3 separate regions of the Homo sapiens genome follow, and regions 2 and 3 are each linked to region 1. The links are contacts of gene promoters, found by promoter capture Hi-C in blood cells and fetal thymus (Javierre and others, 2016). All regions are on one chromosome and are shown on one strand. The core of a region is centred on a gene start or on the middle of the fragment in contact, and the rest is flanking DNA. Distances in the headings are between cores, read along the strand shown.

Region 1 (2,700 bases), core at 130-2,629:
AAAGACTTTTTAGGAAAAATAGTGTAGCTTAAAATAGGCTTAAGTCAATAAGTATCAGTACATAGTTTCACTACATAATGGTAAAGTATGCAACTTGGAAAAAGATATAATAATTTAAATTATATTATAAATATAATCTGTTATTACTTTATAAAGTAGCATATAGAAGTTTTTTCTTCTCTCTAAACACACACATAACATATATACTTAGATATACATATTCTATGTAAAAATATATGGTAGAAATCAAAAGAACTACAATGAGAAATTAACAAAATCACTATTAGAGTTGGAGATTTCACCACATCTCTCAGTTACTGAAAGAACAAGGTAAAAAATAGCTTAGATTTAGATTTAGATTTTTCAAACATAATTAACAAGCTTACTTAAGAAACTTTATCTTACTTAAATAGAATTTGGAATCCAACGTTTATAAACTCTTCTCAAGTACTCATGGAGTAATTAGAAAACATTCATATGTACAAAGCCATAAAAAAGTCAAAATGTATCCCAAAGTAGGAAATATATAATTGATTCTCCCTGTCTTTTCATTATACCTTGCCACAAAAAATGTTATCTATGACTGAGTAAAGCATAGACCATTTGAAAAAGAGAATTATTTCTTCTTACACTTGTTGTAAAATGAAGCATAAAATGAAACTGATTCATGAAAATGTAAAGATTATTTTTGAGTAAATGCTTGTAAAATTGAGAAATTAATGTGTGCACATGTCTATGCTTTTTAAAATAGAGATAAAATCATATAATAGAGATTTATATCCTGGTTTATTTTTTACTAAATATTACTTCATAATAATTTTCTTATCTGACTGTCTTGTCTTTTAACTTAGGCCCAAACCCAGTCACCAAGTCATCCTCCAGCCAAGAAAACCAAGTATCTCCTCTAAATATCAATTTATGCCAAAAGACACCCAAGAATTAATTTTTAAAACCTGCTGTAGACAAAATACATTTTTTTGGTTCATACCCCAATTGTGGTAGAATAAAAGATATCCATTTGCTACCTAGACAGTTAAAGCATTCAGTTCTCAGTTTTCTGAATATGATTGATAACAACACTTCTGGTCTCAGGCAATTATTCTCTACTGAGATGGTGTGGTTACCAACTAGATACCTAGATCTTTCTCTAAAGAACTTCCCAGAAATCTCACCTTAATGGATGCTTCTTCCACAATAGTCTTCAGAAATCCTGGAGTCACTGTCTTGTTTAGGACAGAATCACTGTCCGTAAAGCTTTGGAGAGATTAAACTGCAGACTATTTTAATCTTGTAAAGGGCTGAGAAATGAAAGCTAACAAGGAAAAATGGCACTTGTTAGAGCCACTCTCAATCTTGATTGTAGATGGCCTTCTTACACTGTCCTAATTCCTAACTAGAAAGAAGTTATGTAATCATGAAACAATTTTGAAGCCACGCCTATCAGCCTTTGTAGCTTTCTATTTCAGATGTCAGAGAAAGTGGTCAGTTCCTCTTTGTAGTAAGTAATCTCAGTCACAAGGAGAAATGACAGTAAATGGTGCCTCTTCTTCGCTTTTTTGACTTACAAATACTTGCTGAAAGGAGTTTCAAACTCAGAACTTTCTTATAAAGCTAACTTACATATAGGTCATTAGAAACCGGTAGCCGCTTGAATAAGGATCTTAATATAAATTGGGAAAGGCAAAACACCAAAGTTTCTCCCTCCTTTCCTGTTCACAGAGTGGCAGGAGCAGGAGATCTTGGTAGAGATGTCTATTGCTACCAGAACTTGACTTCATCTCTTGGATAGGGGTGGGTCTACTGTGAAATTGTTTTTGTTTAAATAGTACCTACATATTCACCCAGTTATTAATAACTGATACACCTGGAGCTTGACAGAGGCAGAAAGTCATTATGAATATGTAAATCCTTATTCAAATAATTTGAAAGAGTTTCATACTAGTTGCTCTCTTGAGTATAATAACTGAGCTGCCTTACCTTGATTATTAAATTCATGATTACTCATGCTTTTTGCATTATTTATGGATAGTTGGTTCATATCATGACTGAAACCTTGAACATTCTGGAACAGCACTGAAACTCTGGAATGATAGGGGGCCTGATAAACCCTTTGTACTGCAATTTTTTTTTCCTGTGAAGAACAGTGGGTGCACTACAAAGTATCATAACTCTGAATTGTCAAATGAATGGTATCAGTTAGCAGACAGTGCTGTGGTTACCAACTAGCTGATCTGTAAGCAAAATGTGGTCATGACTGGAAAAGGATCCCAAAACAGCTAATAGGGGAAAATGATCCAAGGCCATCTACAGAGAAGAATAAAGCTGATTGTCTTAATCCAAACCAGCAGCATAGAGAGAGTTAAAGTTTGGATTTGGAAACTGTCTAAACCCCACTAAAGCAGGGTAAATCAGAAAAAACCAAGAGGATCTAGAATGACAGCCACTAACACATGTGGGTGTTCATTGTTTCAGTTTCTCTCTTATGCTGATGCTTCGAGCAGGTCTTAAGGTAAAGGGTAAAGAGGAACACAAGGAAACCTTATCAGGTGCCCCACTTCAGTGTTTGGGAACCAAAAGAGCTCACGACAGGAGTTACCATGTTTCAGGACAGCTTTCTGCCCTGATATGGTTTGGCTCTGTGTTCCCACCCAAATCCCATCTTGTAGCTCCCATAATTCCCACGTGTTGTGGAAGGGACCT
Region 2 (2,700 bases), core at 158-2,657, 190 kb before region 1:
CTTTTAATTTCAGGTGTTGGTGGAAAAATGAAACGAAACAATTTTGAGGACTTACCTTATGTAGCATAAATACCCCATATACAATATTTCCTGAAGCTTGTTTGTGAAGAATATCAATCTTCAGAGTTTCCTTTGCTCTGTTGATGATTTTATTTGGAACCTCAAACGTTTGGTTAGGACCAGCTTCAGATACAGTAGATTCTTCATTGACCTCTAGGAGACTATCATATTCCAAATAATCTGATATGATGATGATTTTCTTTCCATTGAATTTCTCCTTCAAGCTGGTGTTTAAAACCTTCACATGGAAGAACTGTGTCTGTGTAGCCACTGTAGCATGAAACATTATTTTTTTCTCCATTTCTGGGGTCTCATATTCAAATGGCTTTGTTGTACTCAGTACCTTCACTATCACTGGGCGTTTTTGGAGAACATTTCTTCTGGGAGTTACCTGACATTTGGCCACTGTTTTCGGGTTCTGTGTATGATAGCACAGGAGAACAAAGAAAAATGTCTAATTGAGAAATACAGAACTGCTATTCAGTGACCTCAGTATAACACAGGGCCCCAAAACTTGCACAGATGTTTAGAGCTGGAGTCAGGATAGAGAGGGATTGCGAGCCAGGGCAGAAGATATCTTAAACTGGTACAATAGCAAGATGAAGTAACAGAGGAGACCATATAGTGAAAAGATGACCTTTCTGTAAACAGAATCAACCTTAAGAAATAAAGCATAAGAGCAACATAAGACCAGTGGATACTGAAAGCCAGTGTCATGAAGTAACTTAATAAATTTTAGGGCCAGGCGCGGTGGCTCACACCTGTAATCTCAGCACTTTGAAACGCCGAGGCGGGTGGATCACCTGAGATCAGGAGTTTGAGACCAGCCTGGCCAACATGGTGAAACCCTGGCACTACTAAAAGTACAAAAATCAGCTGAGTGTAGTGGCAGGCGCTTGTAATCCCAGCTACCTGGGAGGCTGAGGCAGGAGAATCACTTGAACCCGGGAGGTGGAGGCTGCAGTGAGCCGAGATTATGCCACGGCACTTCAGCCTGGGTGACAGAGCGAGACTCTGTCTCAACAACAACAACAACAACAATAAATAAATAAATAAATTTTAGAATGAAATAATTTCTTATACTATTTCTCTTACCAGCTTAAAGTGCCAGAGCCTAAAAATAGACAAAGTTAAATGACATTTAAAATGATCAATAAATACTAAAAAAAAATAAAAATAAAAAAAAAATGAAAAATGGTGCCCACCACAAACTATAGACACAAAGAGTGTTCAGTTATCACCAGTGTAGACAGGGCAATTTAAAGAGCACATTTCATAGTGTTCCTACCCAAGATTCAGTTTGCTTACAGCAGGTGAGAACACAAGTAGGATAAACCCCTCAGAATGCCATCATCTCAGTAGGTTCAGGCTGCAGAAACTCTACAGAGTGTCATTCCCACCACCATAGCCTTTCTCAGTGTCAGGGCTCTAGCAGGTAGCATGCTAACAGAAACCTGGGGCTCAGAAAGGGTTTTCTTTAACATCTTTACTCTTTAACATCCCAGTCTCCTTAAACTGCGATAGAACAGTTTTAATGCAGGGGAGGTTGTTTAATCTACAAGAAAAAGAGCTGAGGGTATGGATAACCTCATTCACAAACTAGCAGGTGCTGGAGAGGTCTGACATGGAATACTATAGTGAACCAAGGGAAGAGGTATGAAGGACATGGGAGCAGTAGACAGTGAGCCCACAGCTGACAGTTCTGTACTGCATAGCTCTCTCTCCCTTCCCCAAACAACACAGAACAGAAAACTTCCTGCAGTCAGAGATAATGTCAAGTTCATCAAGTATCCCTGTGAAAGCAAAAGATCAAAATGTAGTGGTTTCTCAATATGTACATTGGATTAACTAGCAAATTATCGATGCAATTTTTAAGTAACCGGTGAAATCAGTCCTTTACTTTGGGTTGAAAAAAACAAAGCAAAATGGGACCAGGAAGAGTGTACCTCAGTTGAAGAACTGTTGGGTGGAGCTGACAATGAGGTCTTGGGAGATGGGGAACGGCCCATGGCTGTGGACATGCCGGCTCCTGCAGGAGAGGGAGGCTGAGTCTGTTCCTCGGACACCTTACTCCCTTTGGGTCCAGCCTTTTCTTTGGTTGATTTTTTTCTTTTCTGAAAGTGGTTTGATTTTCCTGTTATTCGTTTTCAGTGCCAAATGAAGTAGAGCACATTTTCATTATTGGATAGTAGTTTTATTATTCCTAAGAAGATGTTTCTTGGAAACTTGAGAGGTTGCTGCCCATCTCTCGCCAGTTTAAGAGATGGGCATAGATGGTTTCATTAAACGAAGAAAGAGGAGAATGTTATACACATTATTTCTCTAATTATTTCTGTTATGGGATGTGCTGACTTGGGATTAGAGAAACTAGGTTTTTATACACATGGACAAAGTACTTACCTGATTCTCACGTTGACACTCCACTCTACTAGAATGAAGGTATCACATTTATGTTATATATATTTACATTATGTTTACTCATGTGTTTGGTGCATTGCTTTGAGCATCAATAAGATGATCAATTATCATACAATTTGGTAAATCTGAAACTTGATGGGAAACATGAAGAAATAACTGCCTGCTGGAGAGATTGAGTGGAAGAGCCGTAGCAGAGCTTCCTCTGTGGGACTTGAAGCCTGC
Region 3 (2,700 bases), core at 200-2,699, 190 kb after region 1:
AGTTCCTAGAAGGCACAGATATGCCTTTTTCACAATGTTTGGTACTTAGTAAGCACCCAATAAAACTTAGTTGCTTGAATAAATAAATTTACAAAAGAAGAGACCTCTCTTTCCTAGAGCTAAGGGTTCCTGTTGAGCAAACAAGAGTAATGACATTCTTTATGAGATGCTTAATTTATACACCATATATGCTTTAAAGTTAATGCATAGTTAAAATTTGCCTTTTAAGAAGATAGACCTTAGTTTTGCTCGTCTAACTTCCTGACTACTAAAAGGGTAGGGAAATAGACCTTGATTTAATCAACAGTGTGGAGGCCTGTGTGTGTATGTGTATGTTGGCCAAAATATGTGCTAGATTCACTTGAGAATAAAAGTAAGAGGAAAGACATGATTTCTTTGAGACTCTGTAATAAGATGTATCTTCAAACCCTAGAAACCACTTAAAAGGAACAGTAACCAACAGAAGTAATGAAATATATAACAGTCCAGGATTCCAGAGGTCTAGGTTTTATTGAAGATGTCTGCTTTTAGTTATACCACATAGGCAGATTAATTACCTTTTCTAAGGTGACTTCTTTATCTCCATAATGAAAACAAAAAATTCCCGGAATCTCTGCAGGATTACTGCAAGAATTGAAAAAGATAATAAAAGTGAAGAGGCTTTCAAATACAAGGGATTGTTATCATTAGGTGATATAATAAAAACAGCAAACGTAAGATCTGTAAAGCATATAAAGCCAGATAAAAAATGTTATTCTGGAAATGTTTTCTAGAGAATGGAAAACTGTAGGACAAACAGCACTGTAGCAAGTTGCAAGGTTTTCTTGTCAATTCCAATGTGTCTGTTTATCTAGGGATCTGCAGAACTGGATCAGTAGCATTGGTGGCATGGTATCATCACAGGAGCTGGCCGAAGACTTAACTGGCATAGAGATCTTGCTGGAGAGACATCAGGTAAAACTACAAAAGTCACAGCCACTGATCACTTGACCTGAAACCTCTACTAATTTTAAAATTTCCAATGGAGTTGGCCTCACTGATTTCTTCCCCCTTTTTCCCACAGGAGCACCGTGCTGACATGGAGGCAGAGGCTCCCACCTTCCAGGCCTTAGAGGACTTCAGTGCAGAACTTATCGACAGTGGGCACCATGCTAGCCCTGAAATTGAAAAAAAGCTTCAAGCTGTCAAGCTAGAGAGAGATGATTTGGAGAAGGCTTGGGAAAAACGCAAGAAGATCCTAGACCAGTGCCTGGAGTTGCAGGTACAGCAAATTTCCCAATTGTTAAGCAGGTTCAGTAGTCTGTTTCTCCTATGCAATTTCATATGGTCATTACAGGCTCCGTTCACTAGACTTTCCACGTTATAAACACAAAGGGAGCTCATCTCTTAATTACCTAGCATTGTACTATGCTTTCTATACCGATCATTGTCATATTCTCTGCTCTTTCTTGTTAGAAGAGCCAAACAAGATGGTGATCAGTCCTGAGCATGAGGTGGGTTGACTATCATTTGTTGATTGACTGAGGAATTGATTGGCTGATTTTTGTTGAGACTCTACTCTGTGGAGGCTCGGAGTGCCACAAAGATTAGTAAGATAGTTTCCCATTTCTTAAATAGTGAAATTAGACATATAGATAAATTTTACTAGTACAGTGAGATGATTATTAATAAACCAAAATGTACGAGTGCTTTGAGGCTAAAAAACAAGAAGTGATTAAAGCTTTTGGGGGAAGTAAGTGGTTGTGTCACAGGCTACCCTGAAGGATAACGTTTCACAAAGTCTTAAGGAAATGACCAGCCAGTATTAACAAGGTTTAAGAAATAGGAAATAGCACCCCAGGAATTGGAGGTAGCATATACAGAAACATAAAGTGTATGTTTGGAAAAGAGGAAAAGTTCCAGTACAGCTAAGATTTGTCACATGAGTGTTTCTTGGAAGATGGTAAGTACTCCTTGCAAAACCCTTTGTGTCATGATCCTGAAAGAGGTGTAACATCATTTCCTCCACACCACATGGACTATACCATACCCCTCTCATTTGATTCCTCATAGATGTTCCAGGGGAACTGTGATCAAGTTGAGAGCTGGATGGTGGCACGTGAGAATTCCCTGAGGTCAGATGACAAAAGTTCCTTAGACAGTCTGGAGGCTTTGATGAAGAAACGGGACGATTTGGACAAAGCAATCACTGCCCAGGTAATAATGACTAGTAAAGGAATTAAAATAATAATCCGTAGTAATAATAACAGAAATCCTACACATTTGTCTGGTTTTATAATTTATAAACATTTTGATTTACTTTTTTTTTTTTTGAGATGGAGTCTCATTCTGTCACCCAGGCTGGAGTGCAGTGGTGTGATCTCGGCTGACTGCAACCTCTGCCTCCCGGGTTCAAGTGATTCTCCTACCTCAGCCTCCTGAGTAGCTGGGATTACAGACACCCACCACCATGCCCAGCTAATTTTTGTACTTTTAGCAGAAACAGGATTTCACCATGTTAGCCAGGCTGGTCTCGAACTCCTGACCTCAAGTGATCTACCTACCTCGGCCTCCCAAAGTGCTGAGATTATAGGAGTGAGCCACCGTGCCCAGCCCTGATTCTTGTTTGCTTCTTACAGAAAAACTGAGGCAGGCAGGGCAGCTTGACACTTGACATTGTTTCACCCAAGTCACAGGCAGCAAGCAGACTCTCTTACTTTA

What was found. The method cuts DNA at HindIII sites, captures the fragments that hold promoters and counts their contacts. A CHiCAGO score of 5 or more calls a contact.
Region 2: a contact is called between a fragment that was not itself captured here and the fragment with the promoter of MNDA in region 1, in 1 of 17 cell types (neutrophils). The highest score is 6.4, in neutrophils.
Region 3: a contact is called between a fragment that was not itself captured here and the fragment with the promoter of MNDA in region 1, in 1 of 17 cell types (M1 macrophages). The highest score is 6.6, in M1 macrophages.

Annotation. Positions count from the first base shown.
Region 1 is chr1:158,830,030-158,832,729 of GRCh38, reverse strand. It overlaps MNDA (myeloid cell nuclear differentiation antigen), which reads right to left and starts at 1,379. Exons shown (of 7, transcript NM_002432.3): 1 at 1,173-1,379. It also overlaps a transcript of OR6N1 not described here. The HindIII fragment of the contact is 3,002 bases long and covers 1,257-2,700 here.
Region 2 is chr1:159,016,007-159,018,706 of GRCh38, reverse strand. IFI16 (interferon gamma inducible protein 16) reads right to left here. Exons shown (of 12, transcript NM_001376587.1): 4 at 2,007-2,174; 5 at 56-478. Among named protein-coding and RNA genes, the nearest start is that of IFI16, 7.4 kb to the right of the region's middle. RefSeq lists an enhancer at 2,491-2,700. The HindIII fragment of the contact is 2,618 bases long and covers 99-2,700 here.
Region 3 is chr1:158,643,749-158,646,448 of GRCh38, reverse strand. SPTA1 (spectrin alpha, erythrocytic 1) reads left to right here. Exons shown (of 52, transcript NM_003126.4): 28 at 855-954; 29 at 1,064-1,261; 30 at 2,053-2,196. Among named protein-coding and RNA genes, the nearest start is that of OR10Z1, 40 kb to the right of the region's middle. The HindIII fragment of the contact is 546 bases long and covers 1,177-1,722 here.